2 separate regions of the Homo sapiens genome follow, and region 2 is linked to region 1. The links are contacts of gene promoters, found by promoter capture Hi-C in blood cells and fetal thymus (Javierre and others, 2016). All regions are on one chromosome and are shown on one strand. Each heading gives the region's core, a stretch centred on a gene start or on the middle of the fragment in contact. The rest is flanking DNA. Distances are from core to core; before and after follow the strand shown. Region 1 holds the start of MAP4K2 (mitogen-activated protein kinase kinase kinase kinase 2). Region 2 holds the start of CDCA5 (cell division cycle associated 5).

Region 1 (2,500 bases), core at 1-2,500:
CAAGATCAACTCGAGCGCCATCAAGCTGCAACTCACGGCACAGTCGCAAGTGCAGATGAAGAAGCAGAAAGTGTCCACCCCTAGTGACTACACTCTGTCTTTCCTCAAGCGGCAGCGCAAAGGCCTCTGAACTACTGGGGACTTCGGACCGCTTGTGGGGACCCAGGCTCCGCCCTTAGTCCCCCAACTCTGAGCCCATGTTCTGCCCCCAGCCCAAAGGGGACAGGCCTCACCTCTACCCAAACCCTAGGTTCCCGGTCCCGAGTACAGTCTGTATCAAACCCACGATTTTCTCCAGCTCAGAACCCAGGGCTCTGCCCCAGTCGTTAGAATATAGGTCTCTTCTCCCAGAATCCCAGCCGGCCAATGGAAACCTCACGCTGGGTCCTAATTACCAGTCTTTAAAGGCCCAGCCCCTAGAAACCCAAGCTCCTCCTCGGAACCGCTCACCTAGAGCCAGACCAACGTTACTCAGGGCTCCTCCCAGCTTGTAGGAGCTGAGGTTTCACCCTTAACCCAAGGAGCACAGGTCCCACCTCCAGCCCGGGAGCCTAGGACCACTCAGCCCCTAGGAGTATATTTCCGCACTTCAGAATTCCATATCTTGCGAATCCAAGCTCCCTGCCCCAAATAACTTCAGTCCTGCTCCAGAATTTGGAAATCCTAGTTTCCTCTCCTTCGTATCCCGAGTCTGGGACACAAAACTCCGCCCCCAGCCTATGAGCATCCTGAGCCCCGCCCTCTTCCTGACGAAACTGGCCCCGGATCAGAGCAGGACCTCCCTTCCGACCCTCTGGGAACCTCCCAGAGGTCCAGCCCATCTCGGAGCATCCCGGAGGAAATCTGCAGAGGGTTAGGAGTGGGTGACAAGAGCCTGATCTCTTCCTGTTTTGTACATAGATTTATTTTTCAGTTCCAAGAAAGATGAATACATTTTGTTAAAAAAAATATAAAGCGCAAGTCCATGTTTATCTGGGAAATTGGGGATGGGGCGGGGAGTGGAGCGCCCCCTCTTCCCTCTGTCTTCTGGCTCCCGGGACTTTGCGCTCCCTACCTGTGGAGCGCGAGCGACAGTGGCGGCGGAAGGACGTAGGCTCCGCCCCGGCCTTGGGGCTTCCCCGCGCCGCCGAGGGCCCGTCCCGCGGGCGCCTCCTCCCGGACTGGCGGTGGGGCATCCCCGGCGCGGCCCCGCCCCCGGGCCTCAGCCCCGCCCCCGCGGCCTCAGAGCCACGGGCGCCCGCCCCGCCCCGCGCCGCCCCGCGCCGGCTCCGCAGCTCGCGCCCGCCCGCCTGCCGGCCCGCCCGGCGCCGGGCCATGGCGCTGCTGCGGGATGTGTCGCTGCAGGACCCGCGGGACCGCTTCGAGCTGCTGCAGCGCGTGGGGGCCGGGACCTATGGCGACGTCTACAAGGTGCGACGGGACGGGCGGGAGAGCCGGGAGGAGGGTGCCAGCCCCGCACCCCGCGGCAGGATCTAGCCCCCGGCCCCGCCCCCCATCCCGCTTCACCCTCCGCCCCTGCAGGCCCGCGACACGGTCACGTCCGAACTGGCCGCCGTGAAGATAGTCAAGCTAGACCCAGGTGAGGGCCCGGGTCGGGCCTCTGCGCCAGAGGAAGGGCAGAGCGCCCGCGGGCGCGGGGTGCGGGCGGAGGGTTGACGTTTCCGAGACCCCTGAGAGGCGTGCCCCGGGAGGTGCTGTCACCTGCACCTGCCTGGCCCGGAGGGAGGCACTCTGTGCCCATTTTGCAGATGGGGGCACTGAGTCAGGGCAACCCCAGCGCGCCTTCCCCATGATGCTTTGTGCTTCCCAGGGGACGACATCAGCTCCCTCCAGCAGGAAATCACCATCCTGCGTGAGTGCCGCCACCCCAATGTGGTGGCCTACATTGGCAGCTACCTCAGGTGAGGCTGCCTTATCCTCCTGGCCCCAGGCAGCCCCCATGTGACCTGCTTTGTGCCCACCCCAGCTCTTTGTCCCTAGGAATGACCGCTTGTGGATCTGCATGGAGTTCTGCGGAGGGGGCTCCCTGCAGGAGATTTACCATGGTGAGGCCAGGGCTCCAGGCCCCAGCAGGCCCCAGCCTTCCCCCACCCCTACCCCACTGGGGTACCAGAGGGGACTCTGGGCCCTGGACTTGGGCTCCTCTCCACTCCTGCCTGGCTGTGTGACCTTGAGAGAAATACTGTCCATCTCTGGGTTCAGTATCCTAGACTAAACTGGGAGGGGACGTGGCCAACACCGCTTTCATTTAACAGTGCCTGCTGCTTTTCCCACACACGGTAGCCTGGGAGGGTGGGCATGACCCCCGGGCCCCCAAGCCAGCCTCTCCCTTTTCCTTTCAGCCACTGGGCCCCTGGAGGAGCGGCAGATTGCCTACGTCTGCCGAGAGGCACTGAAGGTAGCTGGGCCTGTGAGGTGCCCACACCTCTGGTCTCCAGAAGCTGTGGGCCAGGAGCCCAGATGACCAGCAGGGAGGCGGGTGGAGTGCCTCGGGTGGGGC
Region 2 (6,238 bases), core at 878-3,377, 280 kb before region 1:
TTTCAGTCCTTTCAATGAGTCCTCTCTGGGCCTGCACTCATCATATTCTTTGGGCTAATGGCTAATAATGAACAGTTTCAGAAAAGGTTCCTCGATACACACACAGGCACACATATACATGTACACATCCCTGGGCACAAATGTACATGTCCTTATAAGCACATAATCAAACACAAGTGGCATTCCCTATATCTACACTATGGGTACAGGAGCCCTCACACATACACATCTATACACTCACAGGTTTGCTAACAGGCACCCTCAACCATGCATTCTCTTGCACTCCCACAACACACCTGTGTTCATATGTTCACATACATACATTTACCCATTCATTCACCCCAAGTACAGATCAACACACTAACACTCATTTAAACACACAATGTACATTAAGTGCCTGCAAGTACACACATGCACTCACAAGGAGAAACACATATGGAGCTGACTCTTGCATGAGCTCCTTCAAAAACTGGAGCTAAGGCTCTTACCCCAGATTCAGGTCAAAGTCATGACACATATGTCTGCTGACTTCTTTTAGCTAACTTTAATGTGGGAAACTCACTTCCTCTCTGTTTAGCCTTGGAATCAGTGGTGGATCCTGAATATCTGAAAGCAACATGCCGGTCTGGCTAGCTAATAGTCACGGCCACCAGCATACCCGTAAGCTTGACTGGTTCTCGCTGAAACCTCCAGATTGGCAGGGCTTAATTTTTAGGAAAGAGGAACTAGGAGCTTTAATTTTTAGGAAAGACAGTGAGGCCTAGAAAGGAAGAATAACTTGCCTGAACTTACACAGCAGGTAAGGAACTTTAACAGGACTAGAATCTGGGCTCTGAGACTCGGGGGACTCACTGTCCTGCTGCTTGAGGAGGGCCTGGAAACCAGTCACCAAGCTGGCCCCTGAGGCTGGCCTGATCCCCCCGAGGTGCCAAGGCCTCACCATAGCAGACAAGGCGGGTCGTCTCTCGGCTGGCCAGGGGTATGTTGCACAGGCGGCAATTGGGGTTGTAGTCGCTATCTTGGAGCCATTGCAGGTAGGACTGGACGATGCACTGGAGTGGGAGAGAGATGTCACAACTGGTGCTGGGGCTGCTCGGCCTATCACCCCAAGGTCCGACTGTCTCTTTTTCTCTAGCCACAGAGGAGACTCATCCTTTCGTTTGTTTAATCAATAAATATTTATTGAGCACATACTGTGCACCAGACTCTCTCTTGGGAACGGGGGATATATCAGTGAACAAAATAAATCAAGTCCTTGCCCTTGTGGGGCTTACATTCTAGCGCGGGGCCCCTCATGGATTTGGAGGAAGCCAATACCGCCTTGCCCACCCAGTGCCCTGCTCAGTCGCTCCCCTGAAGGCCCCACCTTGGCGTGATTGGCTACCAGGCAGTGCTCGCAGACGTTGACCCGATGTTCGAAGCAGAACAGGTTGGTCACCTTTCTCTTGGGGCACTTACAAAGCCCCATGATCGATCCTGGGAAAGGGGCATGAGTTGGTAGGAAGTCAGGTTCTGGTGGCCACCACTACGCTCTCACCAGCCCAGTTTCCACTCTTAACTCCCCCAGACACCTCTCATATTCGCCCCGATCTCAGATTCCTGCCCACTGTCCCTCCTTATGCGGAGAAACACCCCCTGCATAAATCCCGCCTCCGGCGACCCCTCAATCCTTCTGGATCCCGCCCCCGGCCAGGCCCCTCCATCAGAGGCTCCCCGATACTACCGGCCCCGCCCCCAAGACCTCTCCTGAGCCCCACCCCCTCCAAGTCCCGCCCCTTCTCTACAGACCCCAGTCTCTGTGTTTACTGATCGGCCGCTGCACTGGTTCCGAAGGGCGGTAGCGATGGCTCGAGGCGCGGAAGGGCAGGGACCACTCTCCCCAGGGCTCCTGCGCCTCTCCCTTCAGCCCCGGCCGCCCCGATTATCCCTCCGCTGCCACGTCTCTTCCGGGTGCGGCGCGCGCTGATGACGCCATCGCGCCCCTGGGCCACGCCTCCGCTGCCGCTAGAGGTGAAGACGGGTGGAAAAGACTCGGGGTTCCGAGGGCCGCAGACCGCTAGCCCTACGTCACTTCCGCTTCCTTTCCCGCAGGGCGGGTAATTCGAACGTTTTTTGCAGCGAGTGGCCTTCCCGGTTGGCGCGCGCCCGGGGCGGCGGCGCTGGAGGAGCTCGAGACGGAGCCTAAGTTATGTCTGGGAGGCGAACGCGGTCCGGAGGAGCCGCTCAGCGCTCCGGTGAGCGGAGGGCGCGCGGGAGACGTGAGGTCGAGCCGTTTGGGGGACGCAGTCCGGTGAAAGATGGCCTCTTCCCTCCCGCTGCCGCCGCCGGAGGAGGCGCCCTTAAAAGGGCTTGTTTGGGAATCTTCTCGCTGTCTCTAGAACCTGTTCTCTGGACTCTAAGGTCTAGAGTCCTCCTCTACCACTTAACTTTTTTCTCTTTCCAGGGCCAAGGGCCCCATCTCCTACTAAGCCTCTGCGGAGGTCCCAGCGGAAATCAGGCTCTGAACTCCCGAGCATCCTCCCTGAAATCTGGCCGAAGGTGAGCCCCAGATTTCTCACTTCCTCCCCTTGTGGCCCCTCACCTAATGTTGAGCTCACGTTCATCCCTCTTCTCCAGACACCCAGTGCGGCTGCAGTCAGAAAGCCCATCGTCTTAAAGAGGATCGTGGCCCATGCTGTAGAGGTAAAGGCTAAGGAGAGTGTTGTGGGTGGTTAGGCGGGCAAAACTGGGGACCAGCTATGTGATCAATTGGTATTGTCCCCCGCAGGTCCCAGCTGTCCAATCACCTCGCAGGAGCCCTAGGGTGAGTTCACTTTCATCTACTTAATTAAGTAGAATCTGGGTCACTCTAGAGCTGGACAGCACACATTGGCTCCTCACATCTGCCCAGGGAGCTGTTTTGCAGTACTGCAAAAACAGTTTGCCTGTGGGCACCTGCATGCATTGCCAGTCTTGATTACTCCCTGAAGACTTAATACACTTAACTTTTTATGCCTTGTGTATTTCTACCATTTTCCTGGAACTTCCTTTAAAAGCTGAGCTATGTCTTAACTCCACGTACTGCCTTTCTAATCCATTATGCCTTCAGCTTTCATGTATGGGTGTTCTGAGATAAGTCATGTGTATGACATTTTTACAGTTTTAGCAGAAGTTATTATCAAAGGATGTTTCATTAATAGACAATCTGAAGACATACTGACTGAGAAATGTGAACTCCTTTGAAGAGCTGATAGGGCTTAGAGTCAACTGGGGAGAAAGACCAATGACAAGTGATAGCAACGTTGTGTACTGGGACTGCAATAAGGAATACTAGATGCTATGATGGTAGCTAACCCAGACCATGTGGCTCAGGGAATGTTTCGTGGAAGAAGAAACATTTGAACTGAGTCTTTAAAGACAAGTAGAGGCCGGGTGCAGTGGCTCACGCTTGTGATCCTAGCATTTTGGGAGGCTGAGGCGGGCAGATCACTTGTGGTCAAGAGTTTAAGACCAGCCTGGCCAACGTGGTGAAACCCTGTGTCTACTAAAAATACAAAATTAGCCAGGCATGGTGGCACGTGCCTATAGTCCCAGCTACTCAGGAGGCTGAGGCAGGAGAATCGCTTAAACCCAGGAGGCGGAGGTTGCAGTGGGCCGAGATCACGCCCCTGCACTCCAGCCTGGGTGACAAAGCGAGACTCCATCTCAAAAAAAAAAAAAAAAAAAAAGACAAGTAGGTTTGTTCCAGGTCAAAGAAGCCATGTTTGCAGAGATTGGGAATTTAAAGAAAAATCAAGGTTCGGGGAATAGCAATTTGTTTAGTGTCTGCAGCAGACCTCAGCAGGGGAGGAAGCACCCTAAGGCAGAGCAGATCCTGATGAGGCACAAAAGCCACACTCATGGCTTGGGCATCATTCTTGGGTCTGTGGGCAGCCTTTGGAGAGTTCTGGGTAAGGTAGTGACCGAGTCAAGTTTGAGTGTTTTAAGAAAGACCCCTCTGGGGGCTGTGGGGAGAATGGTTTTGAGAAGGGCTACCCTGGGGCTCCAAGACCAGTGGAATGACGTGAAGTCCAGGAATTCTGAAGCATGAAGCCAAGGGCGTGAGCTAAAGCCAGGATGATATACAGTACTGGGTTCAGAGGGAATTGCCCCCCAGTGGCCTTCCCTGACCACCCTTACCCTATTGCTGTCACATTTCTCTATGTAATTCTCTTAGGCCTTACCAGTTCTAAAGATAGGGTCTTGTTCTGCCACCCAGGCTGGAGTGCAGTGGCGAGATTTCGGCTCACTGCAGATCTTCCCTCCTCAGCCTCTCAAGTAGCTGGGACTATAGTCACATGCCACCATGCCTGGCTAATTTTTTGATGTTTTCTCTAATTTTTTTTATAGAGATGAGGGTTCACTATGTTGCCCAGGCCGGTCTTGAACTCCTGGGCTCAAGTGATCCTCCCACCTTGGCCTCCTAAAGTGTTGGGATTACAGGCATGAGCCACTGTGCCTGGTCCTTATCAGTTCTTATAGTGTATTTTCTTGCATGTTTGATGTCTTTCTCTCCCCCCTCTAAGAACACAGGCACCTTGAGGGTAGGGACTTCTGCCTTTCCTAGTAGCCACTCATTCTTGTTGATTGACTGAGATTCATGGTACATCGAGCAGGATAAAGTTGCCAGGACCTGGGTGACTGCTTGGCTATAGAGAATGAGGAAGTCGTAGTCAGCAGTGACCACCAATTTGTTCAGCTTCCCTGTGTTTTTTTTTTTTGAGATGGAGTCTCGCACTGTCACCCAGGCTGGAGTGCAGTGGCGCAATCTCGGCTCACTGCAACCTCCGCCTCCCAGGTTCAACCGATTCTCCTGCCTCAGCCTCCCAAGTAGCTGGGCTTACAGGCACCTGCTACCACACCTGGCTAATTTTTTTTGTATTTTCAGTAGAGATGGGGTTTCACTATGTTGGCCAGGCTGGTCTCAAACTCCTGACCTCAGGTGATCCACCCACCTCAGCCTCCCAAAGTGCTGGGATTATAGGTGTGAACCACCATATCTGGCCACCCATTATCTCTTGAACTTCATCTTCAGTTTCTTCCTCTTGCCTTCACTTCAGCCACACTGGCCTCCTTGTTGTTTGACCCTGACTAGTACACTGTGGCCTCAGGGTTGTTGCACCTTCTGTTCCCACTGCCTAGAACTTGGCCATGAGTCACTCCCACACCTCCTTCAAGTTGTAGCTTGAATGTCACCTCAGTGAGGGATGTATTGACCTTTATCTTTTTGCAATTCTAACCTGCCCCAAGCACTCTCTCCTGTTCTGTTTTCCTGTAGTGCTTGATACTGCTAACATAATACTGAATTTTCTTACCTGTTTTTCTCTTAGAATGGGGCAGGGGTTTTCTCTGTTTTATTCCCTGCTGTGTTCCCAGTGCCTGGCACAGGACAGGTGACTGATAAATACTTATGGACTGAGTGGACATTTAGGACAATCCTCATCAGCTGTGTGGCAGATGGACCACAGCAGGCAAGGGTGGAAACAGGGAGAGAAATCAGAAGGTCGCTGGGACCAGCCTGGGCAACAAAGGGAGACCTCCCCTACTCTACAAAGAAACTAAAAAAAAATCAGCCAGACAGAGTGTCACATGCCTGTAGTCCCGGCTACTCAGAGGCTGAGGTAGGAGGATTGCGTGAGCCCTGGAGGCTGAGGCTTCAGTGAGCCATGATCGTGCCACTGCACTCCAGCCTGGGCAACAGAGTTGAGACCGTTTATCTGGAAACAAAACAAAAAACGTTGCTGAGCTGGTCTAGAAGACACCTAATGAGGGCTTGAGTTGGTCAGAGGAGAGGCTGGATGCTGGGCACATTTTGGAAACAAGCGACAGCACCAGCAGATGGGGGCAAGTCCATTTGTGTCACAAAAGCAGACTCCTTGGAAGCAATGGTGGGTTGTTTTCTTCTCTCCATGTCTCTTTCAGGGTCTGATTTGTCCCTTCCTTAAAAAAAGTGTGTGTTGGCCGGGCATGGTGGCTCACGCCTGTAATCCCAGCACTTTGGGAGGCCGAGGCGGGCGGATCACGAGGTCAGGAAATCGAGACCCTCCTGGCTAACACGGTGAAACCCCGTCTCTACTAAAAATACAAAAAATTAGCCGGGCGAGGTGGCGGGCGCCTGTAGTCCCAGCTACTCGGAAGGCTGAGGCAGGAGAATGGCGTGAACCCGGGAGGCGGAGCTTGCAGTGAGCCGAGATCATGCCACTGCACTCCAGCCTGGGCG

Evidence for each region. The method cuts DNA at HindIII sites, captures the fragments that hold promoters and counts their contacts. A CHiCAGO score of 5 or more calls a contact.
Region 2: the fragment with the promoter of CDCA5 here is called in contact with the fragment with the promoter of MAP4K2 in region 1 in 3 of 17 cell types (erythroblasts, endothelial precursors and neutrophils); the score reaches 6.7 in erythroblasts.

The regions. Positions count from the first base shown.
Region 1 is chr11:64,801,964-64,804,463 of GRCh38, reverse strand. MAP4K2 (mitogen-activated protein kinase kinase kinase kinase 2) reads left to right here and starts at 1,250. Exons shown (of 32, transcript NM_004579.5): 1 at 1,250-1,410; 2 at 1,522-1,579; 3 at 1,811-1,901; 4 at 1,981-2,045; 5 at 2,343-2,398. The coding sequence starts at 1,315. MEN1 (menin 1) reads left to right here. Exons shown (of 10, transcript NM_001370259.2): 10 at 1-948. The coding sequence ends at 130. RefSeq lists silencers at 1,111-1,290, 1,441-1,620. The HindIII fragment of the contact is 47,852 bases long and covers 1-2,500 here.
Region 2 is chr11:65,079,929-65,086,166 of GRCh38, reverse strand. It overlaps CDCA5 (cell division cycle associated 5), which reads left to right and starts at 2,127. Exons shown (of 6, transcript NM_080668.4): 1 at 2,127-2,234; 2 at 2,444-2,538; 3 at 2,617-2,682; 4 at 2,768-2,803. The coding sequence starts at 2,189. It overlaps ZFPL1 (zinc finger protein like 1), which reads right to left and starts at 1,945. Exons shown (of 8, transcript NM_006782.4): 1 at 1,789-1,945; 2 at 1,367-1,476; 3 at 941-1,052. The coding sequence starts at 1,468. RefSeq lists enhancers at 642-1,226, 1,816-2,085, 2,166-2,395. The HindIII fragment of the contact is 9,431 bases long and covers 668-6,238 here.